Linked DNA regions of Homo sapiens: region 1 is linked to region 2. Evidence: promoter capture Hi-C in human tissues and cell types (Jung and others, 2019). All regions are on one chromosome and are shown on one strand. The core of a region is centred on a gene start or on the middle of the fragment in contact, and the rest is flanking DNA. Distances in the headings are between cores, read along the strand shown. Region 1 overlaps TMCO4 (transmembrane and coiled-coil domains 4). Region 2 holds the start of AKR7A3 (aldo-keto reductase family 7 member A3).

Region 1 (7,380 bases), core at 1-2,500, 420 kb after region 2:
TATCCCGATGTATAGACCCGGCCAAGAGCATGTGGCCTTTTGCTTTGGTAATCTCTAGCACATGTGCCAAAGTGGAGGTGGGTGAACAGATACTGCTATGAAAAAGAACAGGGGCCATGTGAAACACGACACACTTTCTAGTCTTTGATGGAGAGTTAGGCAATTGGCCCACATCCTGCTACGGGAACTCAATTTTCCCATCAGAAAGATGAGTTTGAGTTAACAATAGAACTTTGAGAAATATAGCTGCTGGTAAGCTGCAGGCGGTGAGCCAGTAGAGAACAAGAAGTTTCATTCTACGTGTACCACACATGCCTCATTTTATTGCATTTTGCTTTACTGCACTTCACAGATATTACGTGTCTTACAAATTGAAGGTTTGTGGCAGCCCTGCTTCAACTAAGTCTGTTGGTGCTATTTTCCCACACTCTGAGATCACTGGAGCAGCACTTTTAATTTCCTACAAGAAGCTTTCCTTTGCATTCACAATTTGGCTGTTTGATGCAAGACGCCTGGCTTTTGGTTTGTCTCACTTTCAACATGCCTTTCTTACTCAGCTTAATCATTTCTAGCTTTTGATTTAAAGTGAGAAATGTGTGATGTTTCCTTTCACTTGAACACTTAGAGGTCATTGTAGGGAGATTTATTTGCTTGTTTTTCAGACAGGGTCTCGCTCTGTCACCCAGGCTGGAGTGCAATGGCGCAATCACGGCTCACTGCAGCCTCGACTTCCCAGGCTCAAGTGATTCTCCCACCTCAGCCTCCTGAGAAGCTGGGATTACAGACACACACCACCATGCTGGGCTAATTTTTTGCTTTTTTTTTTTGAGACAGAGTTTTGCTCTTGTTGCCCAGGCTGGATTGCAATGGCGTGATCTCAGCTCACTGCAACCTTCACCTCCTGGTTTCAAGTGATTCTCCTGCCTCAGCCTCCTGAGTAGCTGGGATTACAGGCATGCGCCACCATGCCTGGCTAATTTTGTATTTTTAGTAGAGATGGGGTTTCTCCATGTTGGTCAGGCTGGTCTCGAACTTCCGACCTCAGGTGATCCACCCACCTTGGCCTCCAAAAGTCCTGGGATTACAGGCATGAGCCATGGTGCCCGGTAAAGTTTTTGCTAGTTTTTTTGGTAGAGACAGGGTTTCGCCATGTGGCCCAGGCTGGTCTCACACTCCTTGGCTCAAGCAATCCTCCCACCTCTGCATCCCAAAGCGCTGGGATTACAGGCATGAGCCACTGGGCCCAGCTATCCATCATGTAGGGCTATTAATTGGCCTAATTTCAATACTGTTGTGTCTCAGGGAATAGGAAGGCTGGAGGAGAGGGAGAGAGGTGGGGAACAGCCAGCTGGTGGAGCATCGGAACACACACAACATTTACTAAGTTCACCGTCTTATATGGACAATGTTTGTGGTGCCCCAAAACAATTACAATAGTAACATCAAACATCACTGATCACCATAACAGATACAATAATAATGAAAAGGCTTGGCTGGGTGCAGTGGCTCTCACCTGTAATCCCAGCACTTTGGGAGGCTGAGGCAGGTGGATCATGAGGTCAGGAGTTCGAGACCAGCCTGGCCAACATGGTGAAACCCTGTCTCTACTAAAAATACAAAAAATTAGCCAGGCGTGGTGGCAGGTGCCTGTAATCCCAGCTACTCGGGAGGCTGAGGCAGGAGAATCGCTTGAACCTGAGATGCAGAGGTTGCAGTGAGCTGAGACCATGCCACTGCACTCCAGCCTGGGCAACAGAGCGAGACTCCGTCTCAAAAAAAAAAAAAAAGAAAAAAGAAAAGGCTTGAAATATTGTGAGAATTACCAAATGTGTCACAGAGGCTTAAGGTGAGCACATGTACTAGTGAAAAGGTTTGAAATATTGCAAGAATTATCAAAATGTGACACAGGGACATAGAAGGCCATATGTCTTCTATCAGTTAGCTATTGGCGTGTGACAAACCATCCCAGAACTCAGTGGCTTAAAATAATCAGTGATTATTTCCCATGAGCCTACAAATTGGCCGGGCAATTCTGCTAAAATCATCCAGGCATGGCTGATCCCACTGGGTGCACTCATGTGTCTGCAGCCAGCTGGCAGCTAGGCTGAGGCTGGGTGGGATGAGCCAGCTTTGCTCGGTGGGGTCTCTCATCCCCCCAGGAACTAACTTGGACCCATTCTTATGGTGAGGTTCTAGGAGAGAGTGGAATTCACGTGCAAGGCCTCCTGAGGCCTAGGTTTGAAAATGGCATGATGCGATTTCCTGTGCCTTCTATGGGCCAATGCAAGTCACAAGGCCAGCCCAGATTCAAGGGGTGGGGAAACAGACTACACTTCTTGATGGGAGGGGTTTCAAGGTCACATTGTAAAGTATGTGGATACAGGCAGGGGTGGGAATTATGGCCGTTTTTTGCCATCAGTCTACCACAGATGTACACAATATGTCTGAAACACTGCAACATACTGATGGCTCATGTGTAGTGGGCAACAGGTTAAATCCATTAAGACACTAGTTCAGGATGAATCTTTCTCCAAATTCTCACCCAGGAAGAAGGGGAAGGGGTGGGGGAAACACTGGGAATGATGGCAGGCTGTTGGCAAGTGGCTGGCTTTTGGGGATGTGGTTTTGGGAGTCCTGGGCTAAGGCAGGATCCACATAAAGAACTGGAGGAGTGAGCCCAGGTAGAATCCTTTAGGCAAGATCCAGGTGGGCATGGTGGTGTGCACCTGTGGTCCCAGCTACTCAGGAGGTTGAGGCAGGAGGATGGCTTGAGCCCAGGAGTTCAAGGCTGTAGTGAGCTATGGTTGTACCACTGCACTCCAGCCTGGATGACAGAGTAAGACCCTGTCTCTAAAAATATATCAACAACAACAACAACAACAACAAAAACAAAAAAAACATGCTCCTTGAAGCGCAGAGATTCATTCTGGAAAATTCTCAGCCAATAAATTATCTCTCTCCCCTATTCTCTTTTTCTTGGGGATTTCTATAAGCAAATGTCAAACTTTAATTTAATTCCTATTTTCCATCTCTTTATCTCTCCATGATGCATTGTGGTTAATTTCTTCAAATCAATCTTCCAGTTCATTATTATTATTATTATTTTTGAGACAGAGTCTCTCTCTGTCACCCAGACTGGAGTGCAGTGGTGTGATCTCAGCTCACTGCAACTTCTACCTCCCAGGTTCAAGTGACTCTTGTGCCTCAGCCTCCCAAGTAGTTGGGATTACAGGCATACACCACCACATCTAACTAATTTTTATATTTTTAGTAGAAACGGGTTTTCACCATGTTGGCCAGCGTGGTCTCAAACTCCTGGCCTCAACTGATCCACCCACCTTGGCCTCCCAAAGTGCTGGGATTACAGGTGTGAGCCACCACACCCAGCCAGTTCATTATTTTTCTCTTTAGTTTTGTCTAAACCACTTTAATTTATCCAGTATTCATTGTAATGACTCTATTTTTTTATTTCTACAAGTTACATTTGATTTATTTTCAGATCTCCGTATTCTTTTTTTCAATGTCTTGTTCCTTCCACTTATTTTCAAAGTTTAAATTTATGTCTTTAAAAACTGTAACATACTTAGCGGGTGGGGAGGGCTTCTTCAGACCATTCTGCTGGGCACTAACGGTCTAATTCTGATTGTGTTGTTTCTGCAACCTTTCTTCATGGTGGTTTTATAAGACTGGATTGAAAACTCATCTTTACAGCTACTCATACATGGGAATCTGTGTAGCCTAGATTGAGAACCTATTTTCTCCAGAGCAGTTTTCTCTTTTAAAAAATCATTTAGGCTGGGTGCAGTGGCTCACGCCTGTAATCCCACCACTTTGGGTGGCTGAGGCGAGCGGGTCACCTGAGGCCAGGAGTTCGGGACCAGCCTGACCAACATGGTGAAACCCCGTCTCTATTAAAAATACAAAAATTAGCTGGGCGTGGTGGTGGGCACCTGTAATTCCAGTTACTCAGGAAGCTGAGGGAGGAGAATCGCTTGAACCCAGGAGGTGGAGGTTGCAGTAAGCCCAGATCGCGCCACTGCACTCCAGCCTGGGTGACAAGAGTGAAACTTCATCTCAAAATAAATAAATAAATAAATAAAAAATAAAAAGTATGGCCAGGTGCAGTGGCTCATGCATGTAACCCCAGCACTTTTGGAGGCCGAGGTGGCAGGATCACTTGAGCCAGGAGCATGAGACCAGCCTGGGCAATGTAGGAAGTCCCCACCTCTACAAAAAGAATTTGAAAATTAGCCAGGCACACCTACAGTTCCAGCTACTTGGGGGTGCTGAGGTGGGATCACTTCAGCCCGGAGGGGGTCGAGGCTGCGGAGGGTGGTGTTCGTGTCACTGTACTCCATCCTGGGTGACAGAATGAGACTGTCTCAAAACAAATTATTTATTTATTCATGTTAGAGACAGGGTCTCACTGTATATAACCCAGGCTGTAGTACAGTGGCACAATCATAGCTCACTGCAGCCTTGAACTCCTGGGCTCAAGTGATCCTTCCACCTCAGCCTCCCAAGTTGCTGGGATTACAGGCACAGGTTACCAGTCATGGCTAATTAAAAACAATTGTTTTTAGAGACTGGTTTTCATTGGGAAGGTTCTGTGAGATGATGTCTAGAATCACCTGTCACAGCGAGTATCTGATAAATATTAGTTCCTTCCACTCTTTGTATATTTGGTGCCTAATAAATGCTTATCAAGTCAAATGAAAACAAGACGGATATAACTGACGACATGAAAATTTCTCAGGATATAGGAGCAGCTGCCAAGTTCTGCACGAGCCCTCAAGGAAAGGCAGTCGGTAACTCTCCCCAGCAAGCACCCTCTGGACACGCCCCCTGGGCTGGGATTGGAGGAGGGATGGCTGCAGAAATGGCTGTGAAGTGGCCTTTTCCTCTATGAAAGTGTGCACACCAGAGAGCTGCCACCAGGTGGTGCTGTGGTGACCATGTAAGCCCCGGGCATCTCCCTGGCAGAACCCTACCCCAAGAGCTTCCTACAATGCCATTCCCATTAGAGACGGAGGGAGCGCCCTGGGAGTGGGGTCTGATCACATCCTAGAAAGCCTGCCCCTCCCTGGAGTCCCTGAGATGGAGCCATGAGTATGGGACTCTGGGCTTAGCCCTGCCTGGAGGGCAAGGCCATTTGGGTAAACCCTCAACTATAGAATTAAAGGGACAGGCCGGGTGCACTGGATCATACCTGGAATCACAGCATTATGGGAGGCCGAGGCGGGAGGATTGTTTGAGCCCAGGAGTTTGAGACCAGCCTGGGCAAAATAGTGAGACCTCTTCTCTATTTTATTTTTATTTTATTATTATTATTATTATTAATTTATTTATTTTTTTGAGATGGAGTCTCACACTGTTGTCCAGGCTGGAGCGCAGTGGCACAATCTCTGCTCACTGCAACCTCTGCCTCCTGGGTTCAAGCGATTCTCCTGCCTCAGCCTCCTCAGTAGCTGGGATTACAGGGATTACAGGTGCCTGCCACTACGCCCGGCTATTTTTTTTTTCTTTTTTCTTTCTTTTTTTTTTTTTTTTGTTTTTGCATTTTTAGTAGAGATGGGGTTTCACTATGTCAGCCAGGCTGGCCTTGAACTCCCGACCTCGTGATTTGCCTTCCTCGGCCTCCCAAAGTGCTGGGATTACAGGCGTGAGCCACCACTCTTGGCCAATTTTTTTGTTTTGTTTTGTTTTTTTTAATTAAAGGGACAGATAAAGGGTCAGTAGAAAGAACCCTGGTGTGGGTGTCAGACAGGTAAGCGGCCCTCCCTTGGCTCCATCACTTACAAGCTGTGTGACCATGAATAAATCTCCTGGGCTCCCTGCACCTGCTCTCTCGAAAAACAGGGACTGTTCTGGTGTCCTCCCTCCAGGCTGGCCGTGCAGATGGAGGAGACACCACTTGCAAAGGGCCCGACCTGAAAATGGTACTTCATCCTTCTCTTGGTGCAGTTCAACAGGTATCCATGGAGGCCCTGTCCCTGGGCATCCATGCTGGAGCCGCCAGCCTCAAGGAAGCTGAGCGGGTGAGAAAAGAGGAATCCAGGGCCGGGCGCGGTGGCTCAAGCCTATAATCCCAGCACACTGGAGGCCGAGGTGGGTGGATCACCTGAGGCCAGGAGTTCGAGACCAGCCTGGCCAACATGGTGAAACCCCATCTCTACTAAAAATACAAAAATCAGCTGGGATGGTAGTAGGCGCCTGTAATCCCAACTACTTGGGAAGCTGAGGCAGGAGAATGGCTTGAACTTGGGAGGCAGAGGTTGCAGTGACCCGAGATTGTGCCATTGCACTCCAGCCTGGGCAACATGAGCGAAACTCCATCTCAAATAAATAAAATTAATTAATGAAATTAAATTTTTAAAAAGAGGAATCCAGGACTAGAGGGTGTGTGGCTTCCCCAGCTGCAGGGAGGACTGGCTGAAGGATGGGGTGTTCAGGAGGAGGTCCCTTCCCCTCTGAGATCACACCTGGTGGAAATGGGGTCTGCCTGATTGCTGTTCCCTCTGCGCCCTGCACAGGTCCTGGGATGTCATGGCGTAGGTCACAGGAGACATTTGCTGGCTGATAGATCAATTAACTACATCAAGTGAAAATGCTACTACTGAAGGTTCAAGTCAGGGCCTGAGTCCAGGTCTCTGCTTTCTGCTGGACGGGCCAAGCCCTGCATTTTGGACCCTGTTCATCTCTCCAGCCTTGTTTCTCACAACTTCCTGGCAGAAACCTTGGCTGCAGTCACTGGCCCTTCCCAGCACATGCACCTTCCTGCCTCTGGACTTTGGGTATTGCCAGTCCTGCGCCCTCCGGCCTTCTGCCTGCCTCGAAGCCTCTCGAGGCTTACCTGTCCTTCAAAGCCTGCCCTCTCCTCCCTGGCGCCCTCCCTGCCTTCTGGAAGGAAAGGCTCCTCCTTTGAACTGCTGCAGCCCTTAAAGTCTAGGCCCTTGAGATGCAGCATTTGGTTCTGTTATTCACCTGCTTTAAGCCTGGCATCTTATTTTCTTAACTAGGTTGTAGGCTCTTTGAGGGCAGCAAGCTTGTCGGAAAAGGCAGCATAAAAGAAGGGTTAACAGGAAATGGTTTAGACATACATGAATTAGAATCCCAGGCTTGCTAATTACTGGCTGGGTGCCCTTGGAGAAGTCACCTAACCTCCCTGGGCTTCAGGTTTCCCATTTTCAAAAGTGGAAAATGGGCCAGGCGCAGTGACTCATGCCTATAATTGTAGCACTTAGGGATGCTAAGGCAGGTGGATCACCTGAGGTCAGGAGTTCAAGACCAGCCTGGCCAACATGGTGAAACCCCGTCTCTACTAAAAATACAAAAAAATTAACTGGGCATGGTGGTGGGCACCTGTAATCCCAGCTACTT
Region 2 (7,264 bases), core at 4,163-6,662:
TGAGACTAGTGGGCTTTACAGTTAAACCTGTGTTAAAATGTCTGCCCCTTTCATAGCTGGGTGAAACTCAGTTTCCTCGTCAATAACACTGGGATAGTCATTTCATAAAGCTGAAGGAATAATGAAATCCCTGCAATGAAGCTCTCATTACAAAGCCTGGCACTCAGATACCATCAAAGACCAATGAGAAGGCCGAGCGCAGGGGCTCACGCCTATAATCCCAGCACTTTCAGAGGCTGAGGAGGGCGAATTGTCTGAGTTCAGGAATTTGAGACCAGCCTGGGCAACATGGTGAAACCCTGTCTCTACTACAAATACAAACAATTAGCTGGGCATGGTGGCGCACGCCTGTAATCCCAGCTACTGGGGAGGCTGAGACAAGAGAGTTGCTTCGGCCCAAGAGGCAGAAGTTGCAGTGACCCGAGATCATGCCACTGCACTCCAGCCTGGGTGACAGAGTGAGACTCTGTCCCCCCAAAAAAAAAACATAGAAAAAGACCAGTGGGAAGAATGTTTGTGAGAGTTGAAAGAAAGAGAAATTTCAGAGGAATCGATAAACAAATGTTTCAGCCTTCATCTAAAGATATTGCTGGTTCCCCTGGAAGGGAAGAAGCTGAGCGCACAGGGTCACTGGTTACCTGCAGCTGTGAGTGGTGGTACATCCACCGGAGGGTGGCCGAGGTCATGCTGGGGGCGCTGGCGCCATACGCGGCCTGCAGGGCCTTCTCCACCAGGGCAATGCCCTCAAAGTGGTGCTCCTTCCAGTAGCTGGGAAGGGGGGACGGTGGCACAGGTGTCAGGGCCACATTGGGAGCCACAACCAAAGAGCCAACCAGGGCCACTGTCCCACCCCACACCCTGCAGCCCTGAGGGGCAGGTGTTCTCTCTAGCCATGGGTCTCCCACTTTGCTGGGCAAGAGAACCACTCAGGATGCTGGGCCCCTCAGCAGAGACCTCAACAAATCTTTATTCCTGAGGACTCATCAGCCTGCTCTTATTTTCCTTAGGGACACAAAGGCCGCTAAGATGGGTCAGGACTCAGCCCCAGGCCTCCTGGACCTCCCTCCAGAGCTCCTTCTTTCCTTCCTAGCAGGTGATTGCTCAGGAAAGAGCAACGACTTCAAGACCCCGAGGTCCAGGGAGTCTCCTTTCCTCCTGGAGGTCCCAAGACAACAAGAAAACCGATGGAGGGTTTGGAAATTCCCGAAGAAATTCAGGGGAGTAGGTGCAGCAGCGAGGAAAGGCCTTACCCCAGGAGCAGCCCAGGACTTCATTCCACATAAAGCTGACCCCACCCCAGCCATCCACACCAAGCACCCACAGCTTACCGATTCCTGTACATCTCTGCCCAGGTATTCCCAAAGAAGCGGCCCACGGGCTGTTTCCCATTCTTGTCCTCATACTTGTACTTGCCGGTCAGCAGGCCCCCTGAGGGAAAGCAGCAATCAGCCCCGGGGCCTAGAGTGCCCCAGAAGCTGCCACATCCCTCAGGGCTCTGGTCTAGGGGAGGGGCAGGGACCCAGGAGGGCTGAAGATGCAGCCTTTACGTCTTTGACCTCAGAGGTCAAAGTTTGTCAAACCCTCCTTGCTTCCCAGGTCCTGGGCTGGGCATCTGTGGGTCGGGAATAGGCTGAGACAGGGCCAGGAATGCTCCACGTACCAGCCAGAGGGTTGAAGGCATAGAACCTCAGTCCAAAGTGCCTGAGGCAGGGGAAGAGCTCCGTTTCCACCTGCCGGGTGATGGCATTGTACATGCCCTGTAAGGAGAGGGGCCCCGGGGGAGAGGGTGGATGTGTCAAAAGAAGAGACTTCAAAATTACCCTTCCAGAACCCTTATTTCAGACCTTAACAATTCTAGGACTTTAACCGTCTGGGCGTATACTTATTCTAACTGGTGCTGGTGAAAGAAGCTTATGCCCATGGAAAATTCATTCATTCTGCCAACTTTCATGAGCACCAACTATGGGCTGGTTGTCAGATTTAGATTCTTAAGCCAAAAGGACAGGGTCCCTTCCCTCAAGGTTTTATAATAAGGTCAAGTATAAACAGTTATAATCAAGTCATGAGGCAATCATAATAGACTAGAAAGTTCTGTGACCAGTGCCTGGCACCAAGCAGGTGTGCAAATATTTGTGCAATGAATCATGAGGAGGTAAACAAGGACCTGAGGTCTCAGGGTCTTCTGGGCCCATCTAGAAAGGCTTCCAGAGGAAGAGACACGTATGTGAGACCTGAACCATTCTCTCACGGAAGGGGCGGTGGTGGGGGAAGGGCTTGTTCCAGGCTGAGTGCAGGGGAAGGTAGGGAAGGAAGGGTCCAAGGTGCACAGATAGGCAGGAAGGAAGCAGATGCCCAGTGGCCAGCCTGAGGAGCTTGAATGGCATCCTGAGGGTACCTGGGAGCCATCTGCAGGCTTTCAGCAGGGGAGTGGCTGCTATGCAGAGGGCACAGGGGGCAGTCAGAGGGGCAAAGACAGCCCAGGATGAGCAGGAGTTCTGGAGACCTTGGCCTCTGCAGCCCTGGCTCTCACCTGGTACACAGTGGGCAGGATCCAGCCGTTGCTCTTGCAGAGGGTACAGATCTCGGCCACTTCCCAGGCTGCATAGTTGGAGAGGCCAAGCTCCACGAACTTGCCCTGCTCAGGTGAGGCTCCAGTCAGAACATAGTGCAGCCCAGACCAGGAAAGGGAGGCCAGGGTGGGGCCCCTGGGAGTTGGGCTGTTCCCTGCTCCACCCTGGAACAGCCCTGGTGCCTCTGCTCTCACCATTAGGATCAGGATAAGGAGAGCAGCAGTGGACCACCTCCCAGAGCTCAGGGGTCCCCTCACCTCCTGGTGCAGCTGGTGGCAGGCACGCAGTGTCTCTTCCACCGGGGTGCTGTGGTCTGGCATATGCAGGTAGAAGAGGTCCACTCGGGGACACTGCAGCCGCTTCAGTGACGTCTCCAGCTGGAACCGGAGACTGTCAGGCTTCAGGGAGTTCCCAAACAGTGGAATGGCCTTGGTATCAATTTTCACTGAGAGGAAAGAGAAATGAAATTCAGGGCCAGGCGCCGTGGCTCATGCCTGTAATCCCAGCACTTTGGGAGACTGAGGCAGGCAAATCAGAAGGTCAGGAGTTCAAGACCAGCTGGACCAACATGGTGAAACCCCATCTCTAATAAAAACACAAAAATTAGCTGGGCATAGTGGAGCCCGCCTGTAGTCCCCAGCTAGTCCGGAGTCTGAGGCAGGAGAATTGCTTGAACCCGGGAGGCGGAGGTTGCAGTGAGCCGAGATTGTGCCACAGCACAATGTCTCACAGAGTGAGACTTCTCAAAAAACAAACAAACAAACAAAACAAACAACAAAAAAAAAGAATCTTAGTTCCTAGTGAACTGGACTAACAGGTGAGTGGAGAGTCCTCTTCCCACTTTTCACACTTAGAAAGTCACCTAGGCTGGCAGGAGGGCAGTCACTGGAGCCCTTGAGGCCTAGCAAAGAGCAGGTTTGAGGAACTATTCATATGGAATTTTTCCATTCCACCACCACCCCTCTGCTTCTCAATTGAATTTAACTTCAGATCAGATCTGAGGACTTTCGCCAGCCAACCTTGGACTCAGACAGAAGACAAAGAAGGATTAAAAAAGGAAAGAAAAAAAAATCAGAAATAAGGGCCAGGCAGAGGGTACAGATCTGTGGTGGCTCACACCTGTAATCTCAGCACTTTGGGAGGCCAGAGCAGGAGGATCACTTGAGCTCAGGGGTTTAAGACCAGCCTGGGCAACAAAGTGAGACTCCAGTTTCAATGAATAATACAAAAAATTAGCCGGGTGTGGTGCTACTGTAGTAGTCCCAGCTACTCAGGAGACTGAGGTGGGAGGATGGCTTGAGCCCTGAGAGGTCAAAGCTGCAATGAGCCCTATCGCACCACTCCACTCCAGCCTGGGCAAAAAAGCAAGACCCTGTCTCAAAAAAAAAAAAAAAATCAGAAATATGGTTAGAGCTCTCACTGAGTGGCAGCCGGGTGATCTAGAAAGAGCGTGGCACTGGGATGCACGCACAGGCCAGGTTCGTTCTGGATCTACCATGTGGTGAATCAGAGGAGAAATAAGACTCCACTCAGACACTCAGTGGAAGGAGGCAAATGGTGCTAATACTAAGAACAAACAAACAGCTAACATTTCCCAGCCCTCACTATGTGCCTGCCAGGCATCGGCCTAAGCACTGCAAATGGCATCAGACTGAGGGCGGCTCCTCCTGCCCCTATACACACATCCTCCCCTCCGGCCACACCTGCCTCCTCCAGCACCCGCGGCATTGCCAAAACACATTTGCCTTTCCACACCCATGCCCACTGCCCTGACGCCCTTGCCCCTTGTACTCTTCCTGGCAAACTCCTATCCATTCTTTCTTCACGGGGTCCCTCCCAGGAAGGGGTCACTCTGGGCTCCCCAGCCATCTCTAGAACTGGAGCTTCCTGGAGTGGGTTAGTGTCCATTTCTCTCCAATAGCCTCCGACAGAGCCTCCCACAGAGAGGGCAGTGAGACTCTGTACCACCCCAATCCCTCATCCCCCTGAGGGAGCTGCCAAGGCTTCCGGGCACTGCCACCCTTGTGAGGTGCCCTTGTGAGTACCACAAGGTACTCAGAGCAAAGTCCGGGGCCCCGAGCAGGCTGGCATGTGCAAAGGAGGAAGCAGATAGTGTGCTGGGTCCAAACTCTGATTTTGGACTGTGCCAGGGAGTGCCAGGCGGTAAGAACAGAATTTCTGCAGATCAGGCCCGTCAAGGGCACCTGGAGGGCACAGGTGGGGACAGGAGCTGCACAATGCCAGATCCCAGTGTTTTTTGTGCTCCAGAGAGGGGCTAGCCAAGTCATTCCAGGCAAGACCAAGTCATCCAGGCGTCAGTGAGGGTGCTGGCTACCTCCCGGAAGAGAAGAGAGACGAACAGAAGAGAAGACGAGAGAAAAGTTGTCCGGAGCTAGACGTGCCTAAGGAGCCTGGTGTTCCCAAGGCTGCGAGGTGAACAGGGGTGGGGGCGGTGGGGGGGACAAAACTTTGGGTGCTGCCCCGGGGCCAGGGAGAGCGGGGCGGTACACGGCTGTGGACAGGCTCAGCTCTGCACCGTGCAGGGGGAGGATCAGGGGCCACTGTTACCTCTGCAGTCGCTGCCGCCCAGCCGGAGCCCCAGGCCGCCAAGGATGGTCTCGGACTGGCCCTCGCTGTACACGAAGGCCGTGTCTATCTCGGTGTGGCCGCGCTCCAGGAAGGCGCGCGTGACTGCGGCGCTGGTGGGCGCGTCCATGCGGCGCCCCATCTCCATGGCGCCCAGCACCGTGGCTGGCCGGGCCCGCGACAGCTGCCGGGACATGACGGCGGCAACGGGAGACTGTGACAGCCCAGGAGCCGCGCGCAGCGGTCGGAAGCACCAGGCTCGGAGCGGGCGGCCTCGTGGCTTTAGAGACGGGCTCGGGCCCCGCCCACCGGCGGGTGCAGCTGAGGGCGCGGCCGAAGGTGCCCGACGCCGCCCACGAGCTCGACTCCACGCTCGGCTACTAGGACCTTCTGCACTTGCACCGAGCAAGCAGCGAAATGGCTGTGGCTTCGTACCGGTGACTCGCGTCTTGGAGATTTTAACACTCCTCAACGTCCCCAAGGGTGAGGGGGTCCAAGGGTGGCGACTATCCCAAAAGGCGGGGACTCTTCGGGCCTCCCTGCCCCGTCGTCCCTCCTTCCTCGGCCTTGCCCCGGAGCTGTCCTGGGTTTCTGTCTCCTCCCGGAGGGAGCGCTTACGGGGTGGGGTGGACCTAGGGCTGTCGCGCCTGCCGTGTGGTCCTGGAGAATGAGGCTTACCAAAGGCTCAAGACAGCGTCCCCATGGAGTGACATGGTTAAAGTGTTGAAAGAAAAGAACTGTTGGCATTGAATTCTGTACCTAAGTGAAAAAAAACTGACTGGCTCTGGTGACTTAACGCCTGTAATGCCAACACTTTGAGAGATCAAGGCAGGAGGATCACTTGAGCCCAGGAGTTTGAACCCAGCCTGGGCAACATAGGGAGGCCCTGTCTCAAAAGAAAAAAAAAAAGATAGAAAAATGGACCAGTGCCCAGCGGCAGTGAGCTGTGATAGCTCTACTGCACTCCACCCTGGGTGACAGAGGGCAAATCTGTCTCCAAATACAAAAGAAAAAAAAAGACCAATAGACAGATGGAACAAATGAAAAACCAATAGCAAAATTGATTTAAACCCAATCATATCAATAATTACATAAATATAAATGATGTAAATGCTCACAAGTAAAAGGCAGTGATTGTTAGAATGGATAAAAAAGCAAAACCAAACTATATGGTAAATACCAGAAAGCTATTCAAATATAAAAGCAGAGATAGTTTAAGAGCAAAAAGATGGGAAAAGACATACACTGACAAAACTAAATTTTAAGAAGTTGGAATGGCTAAGTGAATATCAGACAAAGTAGATTGCAAAACAAAGAATACTGGCCCACACAGTGGGTGACATACTAGCCCACACCTGTAATGTTAGCACTTTGGGAGCCTGAGAAGGGAGGATTGCTTAAGTCCAGGAGTTTGAGACTAGCCTGGGCAACACAGGGAGATCTTATCGCTACAACAAAATTTTAAAAATTATCAAATTGTGGTAGCATGCACCTGTGGTCCCAGTTACTTGGGAGGCAGAGGTGGGAGAATCATCTACGCCTGGGAGGTCGAAGCTGCAGATTGAGACCCTGTCTCAAAACAGCAACAACAACAACAACTACCAAAGACAAAGAGGGACATACCATAATGACAAAGAGGTCAATTAATAAAGAAGATATAATTCTAAATATATATGCACCTAAGCATAGATCATCAAAATACATGAAAAACAATAATGGAACTAAAGAACAAGTAGATAAATACAAAATTATAATTGGAGATTTCAACACACCATTCTCAATAGTTGTAGAACAGTTATCAGTCATAATTTACGGAAACTCCGTAAAGGTATACAAGACTCAATGCTATGAACCAATTCCACATAAACAACATGAATAGAATATCCAACAACAGCAGGATATGCATTCTTTTCAAGTGCCCATCCACCAAGATATACCATATTTGGAGGCATAAAACAAGTCTTAATAAATGTAAAAGAGGCTGGGAGCGGTGGTTCACGCCTGTAATCCCAGCACTTTGGGAGGCCAAGGCATGTGGATTAACTGAGGTCAGGAGTTTGAGACCAGCCTGGCCAACACAGTGAAACCCCGTCTCCACTAAAAATACA

What was found. The method cuts DNA at HindIII sites, captures the fragments that hold promoters and counts their contacts. A contact is called where the count stands out against the background at its distance.
Region 1: a fragment that was not itself captured here is called in contact with the fragment with the promoter of AKR7A3 in region 2 in 1 of the 25 tissues and cell types used here (bladder).

Annotation. Positions count from the first base shown.
Region 1 is chr1:19,710,848-19,718,227 of GRCh38, forward strand. The region is part of intron 13 of TMCO4 (transmembrane and coiled-coil domains 4); the gene reads right to left. Among named protein-coding and RNA genes, the nearest start is that of HTR6, 50 kb to the left of the region's middle. The HindIII fragment of the contact is 5,014 bases long and covers 1-3,757 here.
Region 2 is chr1:19,283,358-19,290,621 of GRCh38, forward strand. It overlaps AKR7A3 (aldo-keto reductase family 7 member A3), which reads right to left and starts at 5,413. Exons shown (of 7, transcript NM_012067.3): 1 at 5,139-5,413; 2 at 2,828-3,015; 3 at 2,531-2,635; 4 at 1,661-1,757; 5 at 1,329-1,428; 6 at 639-768. The coding sequence starts at 5,352. LOC124903867 (a long non-coding RNA gene) reads left to right here and starts at 4,703. Exons shown (of 3, transcript XR_007065521.1): 1 at 4,703-5,003. RefSeq lists enhancers at 270-1,145, 4,646-5,468, 5,469-6,290. The HindIII fragment of the contact is 16,987 bases long and covers 487-7,264 here.